2 separate regions of the Homo sapiens genome follow, and region 2 is linked to region 1. The links are contacts of gene promoters, found by promoter capture Hi-C in blood cells and fetal thymus (Javierre and others, 2016). All regions are on one chromosome and are shown on one strand. The core of a region is centred on a gene start or on the middle of the fragment in contact, and the rest is flanking DNA. Distances in the headings are between cores, read along the strand shown. Region 1 holds the start of ENAH (ENAH actin regulator). Region 2 overlaps ENAH (ENAH actin regulator).

Region 1 (7,172 bases), core at 2,757-5,256:
AGGTGCCTACATGATGGGCCAGCCATTGGGCCTTGGGCCAGCAACCCTTATGAGAGAAGAGTTCAAATGATTTCCACTATTCAGCCAAGCCAACACAATCTCAGCTAATTTTTAGTTTTTAATTTTAATTGTTTAGAGACAGGTTCTGTCTCTCAGGCTGGAGTGCAGTGGCTGGATCATAGCTCACTGCAGCCTCGAATCCCTGGGCTCAAACAATCTTCTTGCCTCAGCCTCCTGAGCAGCTGAGACCACAGGGGCGTGCTACAATACCTGGCTCATATTTTTTTTCTTTGAGACGGAGTCTCGCTCTGTCTCCCAGGCTGGAGTACAGTGGCACAATCTCAGCTCACTGCAACCTCTGCCTCCCAGGCTGGAGTACAGTGGCACAATCTCGGCTCACTGCAACCTCTGCCTCCCGGGTTCAAGTGAATCTCCTGCCTCAGCCTCTGGAGTAGCTGGGATTACAGGCACCTGCCACCACACCTGGCTAATTTTTTGTATTTTTAATATAGATGGGGTTTCACCATGTTGGCCAGGCTGGTCTCAAACTCCTGACCTAGTGATCCGCCTGCCTCAGCCTCCCAAAGTGCTGGGATTACAGGTATGAGCCACCGTACCTGGCTACCTGGCTAATTTTTTAAAAATTTTGTAGAAATGGGGTCTTGCCATGTTGCCCAGGCTGGTCTTGAACTCCTGGGCTCAAGTGATCTGCTGCCTCAGCCTCCCAAAGTGCTGGGTTTACAAACCTGAGCCATCATGCCAGGCCCAGACCTAATTTTTAAGCAGAGTTTATGAGAAGAGAATCAGCTTTAATTTTTATTGCCTTAGTGCACTCTCATCCCATAAGAAGGTAGTTTGATATAGTCGAAGGAACAATGGACCAAGATTTGGAAATCCTGAGTTTAAGTTGTGGGCAAGTTACTTAACCTCTCTGGGTCTCACATTTCTTTTCTGAAAAATGAGTGGGCTGGACCGAAGATTCCTTCCATCTCTAAAATTCTTTTATTCTATATGGTAACACATTCCACAGCATTTCCTTTGTGACCAGAATTAGTCTGTGACTTCCTACCTCAAGTATCGCTTTGCACTCTTTGAATGTTAAACCAAATATGAACAAGAAGCAATAACATTTTGTCACAGCCAACAAATTGCCCTTCCACAGAATGACCTTTGGGGGTCAGGCCACCCATTGCAATATCTAAATCCAAAAGGCAATGAATGCTATGACCAACTTGTGAGCTGGCAGGCTGCCATCCAAAAGGATGGAAATGGTTGTAGGCAGCCAAAATTCTTGGCTGGTACATTTTTAATAAACATAGAAAATAAGAACAGCATTTTCCACTTGGATTGCTTAATTTGGTGCCCATACCATTGGAACATTTGCTGTTAGAATAAAGATGATGTGATATATCACTTATTTAGCGCAGGATGGATTAACTTTCACAAATGAGAAGTAGGTTATGGAGTCATCTGTAAGGAATTTTTATCCTTGTTTCTTGTGTCTGGCAGGAGATAGCTTGAGTCATTACAGCACTCTCTCCACCCCTTTTGGCCCTTTGTAAGAGTTTTCCCTGAAACATAAGCTCTGTCGGATTTACTGTATTGCTATGAATGGACTAAGGCAAATTGGTGTGACTTCTCTGTGGTCGAATATGTTTTATTAATACTTTTCCAAGATGGTTCAATATGTCTTAATTTTTCCAAGAAAAAACTCTCCACAGCACATGTTCAAATACTTGAGGTATGTGTTTCAAACTACAGGGAGAAACTTACGTAAGACAATGACCCTCATAGTTGGTAGCTATGATTTTTAATCATGCCTGTTGCACTAATTGATCCAGTTACTTGAGCTCTATGTTTCCCTGTCTCTACTTGCAATATGGCAACTAGAACATTTGACTGGCAAGTTTGTTTTCTCTCCAGTGGTTGGAGATCCTTGAATAAAATGCCCTCTGTAATGGTAAGCTGTAATTAGATATGTGGGTGGAAATTAGCGTTCTTCAAGTACACCATGTTTAAGGCAGAGGCATCATGCTTTCTACTACCTGAGGCCACCTTGATCCTCTGCCATAGCTCCGGGTCACTGCTTCTATAGGGCTGTTGGTCTAAGGCTGCCGGTTCCAAAAAGAAAATAACTCGGTATTGAGCTCTGAAACCAGGAATTTTATTTATTTATTTATTTATTTATTTATTTATTTATTTTTTAGATGGAGTCTCGCTCTGTCACCTAGGCTGGAGTGCAGTGGTGTGATCTGAGCTCACTACAACCTCCTCTTCCCGGGTTCAAGCGATTCTCTTGACTCAGCTGGGATTACAGGCGTGCACCACCACGCCCGGCTGTTTTTTTATTTTTTATTTTTAGTAGAGACAGGGTTTCGCCATGTTGGCCAGGCTGGTCTGGAACTCCTGACCTCAGATGATTCGCCTGCCTCAGCCTCCCGAAGTGCTGAGATGACAGGCGTGAGCCACCGCACCCGGCTGAAACCAGGAAGCTTTTTTTATGGTTAAAAATGGGCTACACAGTTCAATTATAGACAAATCAGGCATTGACCACGGATCACTATAACCTGTCTTTTCATTTGGAAGTGTACATTATCCCAACCTTCCTAACTATCTTTTGAATGGTACCTGCATCTTAAAACAAAACACCAAAACTTTTGAATGGATTCCTGGAGTCATGGTAGGTCCTCCATTTTGGATGAGATCCTTCAGCAATAGGATCCCTGTAGCAACAACCCTTTTCTATCCTCCTCACCTTTTATACAGAAAGTACATCCCTGTCTTCCGGACTAAAAGGGGGCCGTAATTCGTACAGTTAAAAATTTTATTATTGGATTTGTTTTTAGATTTAAAAAAAACCGAAAACAAAACCTTCAACAACGATCAATTCTGGCTTCCTGGATGCCCTCCTCCCCGACTTGACTTGAAATGAAATTGCCTCGCCAGTATTTTATATCTACTTTTTAAGGGAGGTGACTTCAAGACCATTGGGAATGACGAAAAATTTAAAATTATCATTAGTTCCTCTCTCTCCCCGCCCCCTGCCCGGGATTCCCTCTTTGCTAATGACGCTGGAAAGCGGCTCCACTGGCTGCGTTTCTCTTCTTCCACTCTTGCGGCAACACACTGTTCCGCGCGCGTCTCCCGGCGACTGCGTTTCCCCGAGAGTCGGCTGCGTTCGTTTGGGGATGAAGTCATCCCTATACCTAGTGTGCACATCAACTCGTTCCATCGGCGCAGCACGCTGGGATTCCTCGGGAAGAAAAGGAGCGAAGGGAACAATGATGACCATATTTTCCATTTATATGCCCCTCCTCAACTCCGCAGGAATCGCTGGGCGCAGCCGCGGCGAGGGCGGGCAGTTGGGCTGACCGGGATGCCCCCCGATTCCCTCATCCCCGTCCTGAGACCGCAACAGGGCGGGCTGAGCACTCGCCCCGCGCGAGGGCACCCGGCCGCGAGCCGACCCGGAGTCTCCTGGCCCGGCCCTGTGCCCAGTCACGCGTCCAAGCTCCCCACGCCGGTGCCTACGGGTCTGGCGCCCAGGAGGTCTCGGCGCCTCGGTCTCCGCACCGTGGCCGTGGGGGAGGCCTCGGAGCTCCCCAAGCCTCTGGGGAGCGGGAGGCGACGGGGAGGGGGCCGACGGTCAAGGACAACCACGGGCGAGGAACCCCGGCCGACAACTGGCCGGAGGTGTTGGGCGGGAGGGGGGGGTGGTGGCCCGCCCGAATCCCAGAGGGGTGCAGGGGGCGGGGTAGGGAGGCAACAAAGAGCCTCTCTCCGCCGCCGCCGCCGTCGCGCTCGCTCTCTCCCAGCCTCGCTCTCCGCAGTCCGGCGGGGGCCCGGCCGCCGGCGCGGGGGAGTGCGCCCGGCCCCCCGCCTCCCCTTTCCTCCCCTCCCCCCGCACCGCCCCCTCGCCCCCGGGGGAAGGAGGGGAGGAGGGCGGCGCCTGCGTGTTCCTCCGCCGCGCGCCCCGCCTCCTCCCGGGTTCCTCGCGGCGATCCCGACTCTCCTCCCGCGGCTGCAGCAGCTGCCGGTTGCACACGGCCTCGGCGGCGGCGCGGCGAGCGCGGGCCTGTGGAGCGGCGGCCGGGCGCGCGGCCCCGGCGGGCACCCCTCAGAGGGCGGCCGAGGAAGCTCCGGGAGGAGGAGCAGGACCACGAGGAGGTGGGAGGCGGCGGCCGCCTGGGGACCAGCTCCGCGCCTCGGCCTCTCCGCCCCCTCCCCAGCCTTTCTCTCGCCCTCTTCTCCCACACTCCCGGCCGGCGCCTCGGCTTTGTGCGAGGAGATGGTGTAGCCCCCTGGCCGCCGAAGGAGGAGCCGGACACTTGTCTCCCGTCTCCGAGCTGCTCCCCACCCCTGGAGGAGAGACCCCCCCCTCGGCTCGGCGCCTTCTGCGTCTCCCGGCTGGTGGGGAAGCCTCTGCGCCGCCGGCACCATGAGGTGAGGGGCGCGCGGGGCGGGGGCCGGGCGGGCCATTGTGCCGCGGGAGCCGCGACCCCCGTTCTCCTCGGACCCCGCCTTCCCTCTCCCGGCCCGGCGCGTCTCCCCTGGTCTCCGGTCTGTTCCTCCCCCCTCCGCCTTTTGTCCCTTCCAATTTCTCTTTCTTTCTTGGAAACCTCCCCAACCCGTGTGGTTTGGGGGTCTCGCTTCATCGTTCTCTCATTTTTCCTCAAATGCTCTTCTTTCACCCAGGATTTCCCTTCCTAAATTTAATTTGCGCCTGGCTCCCTCCCCCAAGCCTTTGCAAGCGAAACCCGGGAGATGGGGAGGGGTTCGAGAATCGAAGCGTGCGTGTTGCTGGGAAACAGGTATTTTTTCGTATATATGTAAAAATTTCATGCACTTTTGCCTCCGAACTCTCGTGTTTAATTAAAAAAGGAAGAAAAGTTTGAAAGGTCTGAAATCTCTGCGGGTAATAAAGTGCCTCTGGTAGGGGTAGGTGAAGGAGCTGTGAAAGGTGAAATTTCACGATGGTGGGGGAAGGGAAAGAATTGATTAGGTTCACGTGGTGGGGGCAGTAAAAGACTGGGATAAGTAAGTTGGTAGGGGTGTGTAAGCGGGGGCGGGGAAGGGATCTGTTTGGAAAAGCCTTTTCTCCCCTTTCTCTGTAGCAGCCTGTGTTGCATTGCAGCAGCTGCTTTTTCCCTTTGCTCTGTACTCAATAAAACAGGAGCTAAATTATTTTTGCGGCCCCGAAGAATTGAATGTACTGTCGTAAAATATTTTTTTAATTGATACGATGAAACATATGGTATGATATTTTTCTTTATTGTTTCTCAAATTGTGTAGGAGAATAAACCGTGATGTGGTGTGTCATTCATTGGAGATTTTTTTTCCAGCCTTTCCTAAACCTGTTCTGTGTCCATAACCTTCTCTTTTCGGATTGGTGCAAGACTTCGTGTGAAATGGGACTTGGTAGACTGAAGGCTGATCCATTCTGCGTTATCATCCTTAAAGGCCTTCCTTTTGGGTTAAACAATTGTGGATAAAGTAAATTACTCCATTTCTCTCTCCTGGAAGAGATAGTCTTACAGTTCATTTGGATTTGAATCTCCTTTGTGTTAAAGATTAATGGCCAACCGTTGCTAAGACCTTTATAATGTAATACAATGAGATTTGAATGATATAATCTACAAATTCCTTCGCTTTGGCAAGAAAATGTCATGTCATTGGAATTCTTTCTCAATTTCGGTAGTTTCCATTTTAAACTTTGCTTTTCATTTTTTTTTTCTATCAAGGTTAAACGTGTTTCCATTTTGCTTTTATATATATATTGTGATATATCTTTGTTGAATTTTTACTTAGGCTTACTGTGAATTTGAATTTTTTTTTCTGATTCCAAGTTACCTGTATTTATGATGGCCTTAAAGAGTGAGTTTAATGTGGTGTCTCTAGGCGACTGACCCCTTTTCCCTTGATGATTTCACACAAGTTATTTTCAAATATAAGCGATGAGTTTAAATAGTAATTATAGCATACGAACCAAAAAACACAATCTTTGTAAAATATGGCTTGAAAACTTTGAGTCGTATGTTTGAGCATGACTTCTTTTTTTTTAAATCAAGTTACTGATGTCCTTAAACTCAGGAACTATAATATACATACTGTTATATCTTGTAATATTATATGTTGTTGGTTTCTGTTTTAGAGATCTAATGCCGTAGGGATCTTGCAGACCAGAAGTTATCAGTTGTTTCAAACTTTGGGTAAACTTATCTTAACATTGAGAAATATAAAACAGGGAAAGTTTTTTTTTTTTTTTTTTTTTTTTTTTTTTAAATGCAGTCTTGCTCTCTTGCCCAGGCTGGAGTGCAGTGGCGCGGTCTCGGCTCACTGCAACCTCCGCCTCCTGGGTTCAAGCGATTCTCCTGCCTCAGCCTCCCAAGTAGCTGGGATTACAGGCGGGTATCACCACGCCCGGCTAATTTTTTGTATTTTTAGTAGAGACGGGGTTTCACCATGTTAGCCAGGATGGTCTCCAACTCCGGACCTCGTGATCCACCAGCTTCGGCCTCCCAAAGTGCTGGGATTACAGGCGTGAGCCACGGTGCCTGGCCGAAAGTGGGTTATTTTTAAATAAAAACAGGAATAGTTGTCTAATTCAAAGATTGTGAACTAAAAAAAAGTTACCGTTTTGGGTATTCAGTGAAGTTTAATCACTGTCATGTATAGATGTCAGTCTGTCACAGGTAAATTATGTCTTCACTTGAAAATTCCTTTTCTAATAAAAAGTAACTTCTGTTTTTCAAGCTCTTTTCTTGCTCTGTTCCTTATGAAGTGTAGAGAGAGAGGAACCACGCTGATGTTTTCCAGTAACGTAAATATAGAACTTGGTACACAGGTCTGAAAAGTTTATTTAAGCAGTCTACAGTAATTCTTCGTAGGCTAATTTTGAATAAGAGCAGGAAAGAGGGTCAGCTTTTCACTTTGGAAGGTACTGGATTATTTGGCAGGTGGTTAGGTAGTACTTAGATTTGCTTAGATACCTGTAAAAGTGAGATTGGTATGGGATAAAACGTTCTTGTGCTGCTTGCAAAAGTCTTTGGAATATTCTTTGGGATATTTTGGTGCTTAGGAAGTGCTTTTCAGGTTATATTAATATATGCTTAGTCTTCATGCTTTCAAGTCCTGTGGGACGTTAATGTTAGTCTTTTAAGTTGAGTCCTTTT
Region 2 (7,172 bases), core at 3,294-5,793, 160 kb after region 1:
AAAAGAAACTGGGTTTATGCACTAAACGTTTTGTGCCTTGGTCTAATATTAACATGATGTATGTGTAAACTGACAAAAAAAAAAAAAAAAAAAAACCAGTGTTGAATCATGCTATATTTCCCATCATCCCAGATTGCTAAATGTTCTTTCCAAGAAGTCTGAATGAATTATTATATACATTTGCTATCATACATGACAGTTGTGTCATTATTAGAGATTTCAGTAATTAAAATGGGAAACAGAAGCCTAAGTTATTTACCTTATCAAAACCACGTTCCTTGGAACCACATTATTATGATGGTTTTTGTGCTCTTGTACGTTGGATGTCTTAAGCTGAGTACAGTTTAGGGGATCCTTTCTAATGACAGGAAGGCACTGCTTTCCTCAACACTGTGATCTGACCTGTGACAAGTCTGTACTATCCACTATGTAAATGGCTCACAAGTCAATTGCAAACAAACTGAATGTACAAATCTTAGTGCTGGTGCTGAAATCTCTTCAGAATAGTCATCATGATTTAAAAGTTTGTTTAAAAATTTGCAAGCATCAAGTGTCAATCAAAACTGAAGATGAAACACTAATGAATGTTGAATTCTCATGCTTTTAGGTGTACTTCCTTTTTAGAATTTTCAGTTTTCTGCTATTTTTACCGTAACTATTTCGTTTAAATTTGTTTCATTTAAGTTTCCTACACGCTAACTTCGTTTGTGCGATTGAAATAAAATTGCAGTATATATATGTTGCTTGTTTGTGACACTTAGATAATCTTCTGAAATAATTTGTTTTAAAGTAAGTTATATTGGATGTGAAAAACACCTTTTAAAGTCCAAGACTTTACTACTTAAAAGTTTACATGTCACGTCACTATTCTTTACAGATTTCATAGAAGTCGTGAATACTAAGTAATGTATACAAAAGAAATATGTGATGATGTGTCTACTTTTTGTTTGAAATAACTGTTGGGTGTTCCCTCTTCTTATTTTCTCTCTGCCCACCTTGACACAGTAACTTCCTCTTATAGTCAAGATGATGATTAAGTGTTTAATTTTTATTCCATTTTGTTCTGCAACACGTTCAGGTACTTAAAACTCATTCATGCAGTTAGAATTATCCTTTATGTAGTTTGCATGGTAAAGGACATTGTGTGGTAAAGGGCATTATTGAGTAATGAATTTTAAGTATAGCAAAATATGTATAGTGTTTATACATGATGCTGATTTCTTAAAACCTACATATAAGCAGTAGTACTTTTTCTCTATTATAAAGTATTAATTTTGAGTTCCATTTTATAATTCTGATGTCTTCATTAGAAATACAAAAATACAATCCTTGTATTTTTTCTTTGACCAGACCCAAATTTTCCCCTTCCCCCCTCCATTCTCCTCTCCACTTCTCGTGGACCGCGTGTTCCCAATATTCATTAACATTTGCAGCCATTACAGAGTTACAGTTGTAAAATTTTCAGCTGTTTTTTTTTTTTTTTTTTTGCTCTAGCCTGTCTCATGTTCTTGCTTCTCTTCATATGTAAGTCAGTATTTTTGTCTACAAATTAAAAGTCACTTGTCATTCAAAAATGAGTTAAGTAACATGATAATCTTTTAAATTTACCTAGCTACAACTTTTATGTCTCTTGTAAATTTATATATACTTTCAGTGCCATTGTGAAGAATTGGCCTTTTAATTCTAAGTAGTATTACCCTATGAAGCACAGTGTGCAAAGGTATGCTACAAGGTCTCTTTAATTCCTGTGTGGCCATTATAATTTTATAACACCATTACCCTTTAAATTCTACCGATTATAAGCAGCGTAAAAGTAACTATATAAAGCAAACATCGCAAAGGAACTCTGCAGGAGCTCTTAATTCCTTTATGTAGCTATCATAAAATTCACTTTCCTGAAGACATTTACTCTCATTCACTTCCAAACTCCAAACCTTTTTCTGGTAGCACCACTTTTGTTTTTAATAGAAAGATGAGTTCATATCTGTACATCTCTCCAAAGCTCTAAGGAATGAGAAAAGGATCCTAGTATATTGAAATTACTGATGTTTAATACCTCTGCCTTTTCACTAAAAGCCATTTAATATTTTTAAAGTCAAAACTTGACATACAGGTATTTATAAGGAATCTCCATGACTCTGAAGGAATGAAATTGATGTAGGTAGCTTTGGCTATGTAAAGACATAGTAGAGGACAATTACTTAAAGAAGAGTTTTCTTTTGAGGATTTGTAGATTTGACTAAGCAGCTGAAGTCAGTAACCCCTCAAGAAAGTCCGTTTATAGAAGCCAAGAACTGTTGGAGGTCTGTGATGCAGGTTTTTCTGTTCCCAACATCAAAAGCTGTGGATTATTTGGTGTGTTCCCCTTTATGTTATCTCTCGATAATTTTTGAGACATCAAGATTTTTTAAAATATCAATACTGGAAAGATGAAACCTTCAAATTAAAACCTAAAATTGATTAGAAAGAAAAGTAAAATATTAATGCAGTAAATTTAGGATGGTTACAGATACTCACCATCAACATAAATAAATGGAGTTCTAGGATAAATTATTTGTGGAATACTAATGGTCAAGTCACATAAGAGTAAAATCTTTTGGTGAGGAGACACATTTGACAACTGCTAAAGAATTAACTAAATTTGTCTTTCTAAATAGTTTTCTTTATAAAGTAACAGAAACATTGTAAAAGGATAAATGACTGTCATAATGACTTAGGATGTTGTAAGAATGTCTGCCACATTTATTGGTTATTTCTGTTGAAATCTGAAGGAATCGATACATCTGAAAATTGAGAAAGGGAAATAGGACTGTCCCCGTTACAGATACTCTGTGATGCACACAACCTTCTAAACGGAAGTGTTAGTATCATTTAAAGCACATAGTAGGCCTTGAGTATTTGCAGATTAACATGCAGAAAAAATCAAAGATGAAGCCCCAATTAAGTGTTTGAACCAAAGAATCACAGTCACTGAGCTGCACCCCCGTTCTGTGAAGCATGTTAAATACTCATAAAGAGCAGAGAGCAGGGCCCGTAGACGCTTCTGGTGTAGGACACAGGAATTCTAGGCAGAGGGAGAAAATTAGGGGCCCCAGTTGGTGGCTGAGAGTAAAAAGAATATACCATTTGAGTAGTGCTGTTCTTTTTCCTCAGTTTTTAAAGACATATAATTCCTAGTAGTTAGGACATCTAAATAGCTCGGTAAACTGGTCAGAGGCGGGAGGATTGCTTGAGGCCAGAAGTTTTGAGATCAGCCTGGGTAACAGGGAGACTCATTTCTACAAAAAAATTTAAAAATTTAGGCCAGGCATGGTGGTGCACACCTGTAATCCCAGCTACTCAGGAGACTGAAGCGGGAGGATCACCTGAGCCCAGGGAGGACGCGGCTGCAGTGAGCCGTTATCATGCCACTGTACTCCAGCCTGGGTGACAGAGCGAGAACCTGTCTCTAAAAAAAAAAAAAAAAAATTCTAAGAGAATATAGCTTTTCATAGAAATTATTAGAAAAGCTTACATATTTCATTAGAGAGCCCAGTTTGTTAGACTACATTTATTCCGTAAAAGTTCTATATACAAATGACAACCCATAGTTTATCATGTAAATCTGATTTAACTGTTCCCTTCAATTCCAAGAAAGATTTCTTCAGCAGTAGATGACAATTCTAAAAGCATAAAGAAATAACTAATAAAGGAGATGGATGATGTTATAGGTTGGTTTGGTTGGGTTTTAGTAAATAGTTATTCTTCTAAGAAGGCTTAGAAAATCGAGAATTGAATAGTTGGTACTTTGAATTCCATAGGAAAAAGCACTCAGAAGAAAAAGTCTACATTGGCTAGTGTTTAGATTGAGAGTTAATTTTCCCATCAAGTCCAAAAGTTTCCATCCAAGTCTATAGAAACTGAGAGAAAAGGTTCTTGGCTTACACTTAAAATACACATTGTTGCAACCATATAAGAGAGATACATTACAGAACGCTTTTAAAAATTTGGTCTCTTAAGCGCCTAACAGTCCATGCTTTAGTCACATCTGTGAAACCTCTTTTCTTTTTTTCTTTTTCTTTTATTTTTTTTTTTAAAGATTAAAGGCATTTTAAAAATAAATGTTTCATGGCCGGGCATGGTGGCTCACGCCTGTAATCCCAGCACTTTGGGAGGCTGAGGTGGGCAGATCACCTGAGGTCAGGAGTTTGAGACCAGCCTGGCCAACATGATGAAACCCCATCTCTACTAAAAATACAAAAAAATTGGCTGGGCATAGTGGTGGGCACCTGTAATCCCAGCTCTTCGGGAGGCTGAGACAGAAGAGTCGCTTGAATCCAGGAGGTGGAGGTTGCAGTGAGCTAAGACCGCGCCACTGTACTCCAGCCTGGGCGACAGAGCGAGATTCCATCTCTAAATAAATAAATGTTTTTCAACGTGTTTTATGTGAGAAATACCAGCTTTTCATTATTACTACCAGTTGATCTCAGGTGTCACTTGGTTGGTTCTGCTGACCGAGGCACTGGGCATTTTAAATATGGAGTTTCCCTCCACCCATTGATCAAGTCTGAGGTTTGTCCATCCTTGGTGGCAGGCTAGCTTAACCATGGATTCACAAACCCCATTTGATTGTCGTAAGTCATAAGGCCACCCCAGTGCCAGTGGTTGGGCATCACAGTGAGTCTGAGGTGATGAATTTGAGTTAGCTGTAGGCTAGTTCCGCAACTCAGCAATAGCCCATGGATGGTTGGTAAAAGACGTTGACTTTGCCACTTAAATTTCCAGGAGAAGAATAGCTTATAGTTTATCTGAGGAAAGTAATTGGGAAGGCTTAGATATTGAGAAGAAAGCCCTGTTAAAATCTAGGTAGCATTTCCTTTCTTCTTTATTACTAGAGGGATGGGAGGTTCAGGCCTGAGTCAGGACTTTACAATTTGGTGTCCTTCCCAGAGGTACTTTGGGCTTGATCATTTTAAGTTTCAATTGCAAAAAAAAATTTTTGACGGAGTGTTGCTCTGTCACTCAGGTTGGAGTGCAGTGGTGCGATCTCGGCTCACTGCAACTTCCCCCCCCTGGGTTCAAAGGGATTTTCCTGCCTCAGCCTCCCAAGTAGCTGGGACTACAGGCGCGTGCCACCATGCCCGACTAATTTTTGTATTTTTAGTAGAGATGGGGTTTCACCATGTTGCCCAGGCTGGTCTTGAACTCCTGAGCTCAGGTGATCTGCCCGCCTCGGCCTTCAATTGCAGAAGTTTTTGAAGGGAGAATATTTGATCCTCACATAAAATGTCCTTGTTTCTGAAAGAAAACATGGTAAAAATTGTTATTGAGTCCATGTCTTTGCCACCTTGTTGGACTTGATTTCCCTTTCTCTGTGTTCCTCCCGCCCTCAGTCTCTCTCAGTCTGTCCTTTTTTGTGTGTGGAGTTGTGGGCAGGTCATTGGACTGGGACTGACTTTACCAGTTTTCAGGCTGTGGGGCTAGTCAGTCATTCTCTCTGAGCCTTCTACCTCTAAAGTTGAGTTCTTTTTTTAAATTCTTTTTGTTTTGTTTTTATTTTTTCCTTGCCACTATACAAGCAAGGATAGATAAAGCTTTTTATTATTATTGTTATTATTATTATTTCGAGACAGTCTCGCTCTGTCATCCAGGCTGGAGTGCAGTGGTGTGATTTCAGCTCACTGCAACCTCTGCCTCCCGGGTTCAAGCGATTCTCCTACCTCAGCCTCCTTAGTAGCTGGGACTACAGGCATGCGCCACCACACCCGGCTAATTTTTGTATTTTTAGTAGAGACAGGGTTTCACCGTATTGGCCAGGCTGGTCTCGAACTCCTGACCTCAGGTGATCCACCCACCTTGGCCTCCCAAAGTGTTGGGATTACAGGCATAAGCGACCGTGCCCATCCCCGATAAAGTTGAGTTCTGAATTTCCTCTTTCACTGTATTCTCGGCAGCTACTGGTTGGTTTATTCTTTTTTTTTAATCTTTTTTGGTTTATTCTTCTTTTGATCTTTGAAGAGAAGGAGAAAAAAGATCTGAGTTTGGCTCTCCCATCTTAAGTGCAGCTTTTAGTTGTTTTATAGTCATAGACGCTATTGCACTGGACAGCATGCATCCTGGATGTAAACAATGCGGAAAAATCAATGGAGTGACCATCTTGGGGTCAGTGGTGTTGCATAAAGCACCAGTGGTGTGCTGTTCTGTGTCAGTTTCCTCTGCGCCACGTGCTTTCACAGTTTGAATTACCAGCATCTCTGTGGTGGCTTCAGTACATTCTCCATTGTGCTTCAACCTGGAAGCACATTCTGCCGTTCAGAAAGACTGATTCCAATCATGTAATGGGACCACACGAGATCCATGCTCCAATTATATGAATAGCAGAAGGTCCATTTGACTCTTGTAGTTCAAGAGCTGTTTCTAAGTAAACAGACTTTCCAGAGCTCGATGAAGTGAAGAAGCCCTTCTTTCAATTCCTGGGCAGAATTCAGTGGTTTTCATATCATCTGAACCTGCTGTGCTGCTGTTTATTCTATCACTGTCAGCCTTGAAAGGAAAAAAGGAATAATCTTACCCTCCTGCCCTTCTTATTTTATATCTTCCATCTTATCCATCTATATCCATGTAGTCATTCCTTCCGAGTTCCCTGGTTTTAATCCAAAAGACTCTGTTTAACAGCAATGTCTTGGCAGACCAGGTGCCGCTTCCGTGCCATTTGAGGGCTCTGAGTCTTTGCTTCGTCTTAGGAAGATAAAGATAATTTGGCAGAAAGTCAGAGATGGAAATAGCAGTTTGGGATGATAAAAGATGGGTCCTGTTTTGCTGACATTCTTTTACTTTGGTTCTTGGTGCGTGTCCTTTGGGATTCATTTCTTGCTAGCATGAATAGGACATGCTTTTCGTTAGGTGCTTTTCTTTTTTGGAGAACATGAAGTGTTTCTAACAAAACTGAATGAGCTAGAAAGAATTCTATTTTGAGACATCTGTAGTTGATGCAAAGTATTTCTGTAATCCTCAATGACAGTACTTACATATTTGCATAGAATTTTTTTTTTAATTTTTGAGGAAACCTCTCTGGAGTCTGTATTTATAGGAGCATCCTGAAAGTCCCTATTATGTAGCTGGTGGGAGCGAGAGAGGGACAGCCACACTCGTGCTGTGAGCAGAGCACAACTTCAGGCAGAGTGAATGCCTTC

The links. The method cuts DNA at HindIII sites, captures the fragments that hold promoters and counts their contacts. A CHiCAGO score of 5 or more calls a contact.
Region 2: a contact is called between a fragment that was not itself captured here and the fragment with the promoter of ENAH in region 1, in 1 of 17 cell types (endothelial precursors). The highest score is 6.3, in endothelial precursors.

The regions. Positions count from the first base shown.
Region 1 is chr1:225,649,957-225,657,128 of GRCh38, reverse strand. ENAH (ENAH actin regulator) reads left to right here and starts at 4,006. Exons shown (of 14, transcript NM_018212.6): 1 at 4,006-4,443. The coding sequence starts at 4,439. RefSeq lists a silencer at 4,027-4,156. The HindIII fragment of the contact is 13,770 bases long and covers 2,495-7,172 here.
Region 2 is chr1:225,488,380-225,495,551 of GRCh38, reverse strand. It overlaps ENAH (ENAH actin regulator), which reads left to right. Exons shown (of 14, transcript NM_018212.6): 14 at 1-7,172. Among named protein-coding and RNA genes, the nearest start is that of LINC02765, 24 kb to the right of the region's middle. The HindIII fragment of the contact is 2,064 bases long and covers 3,512-5,575 here.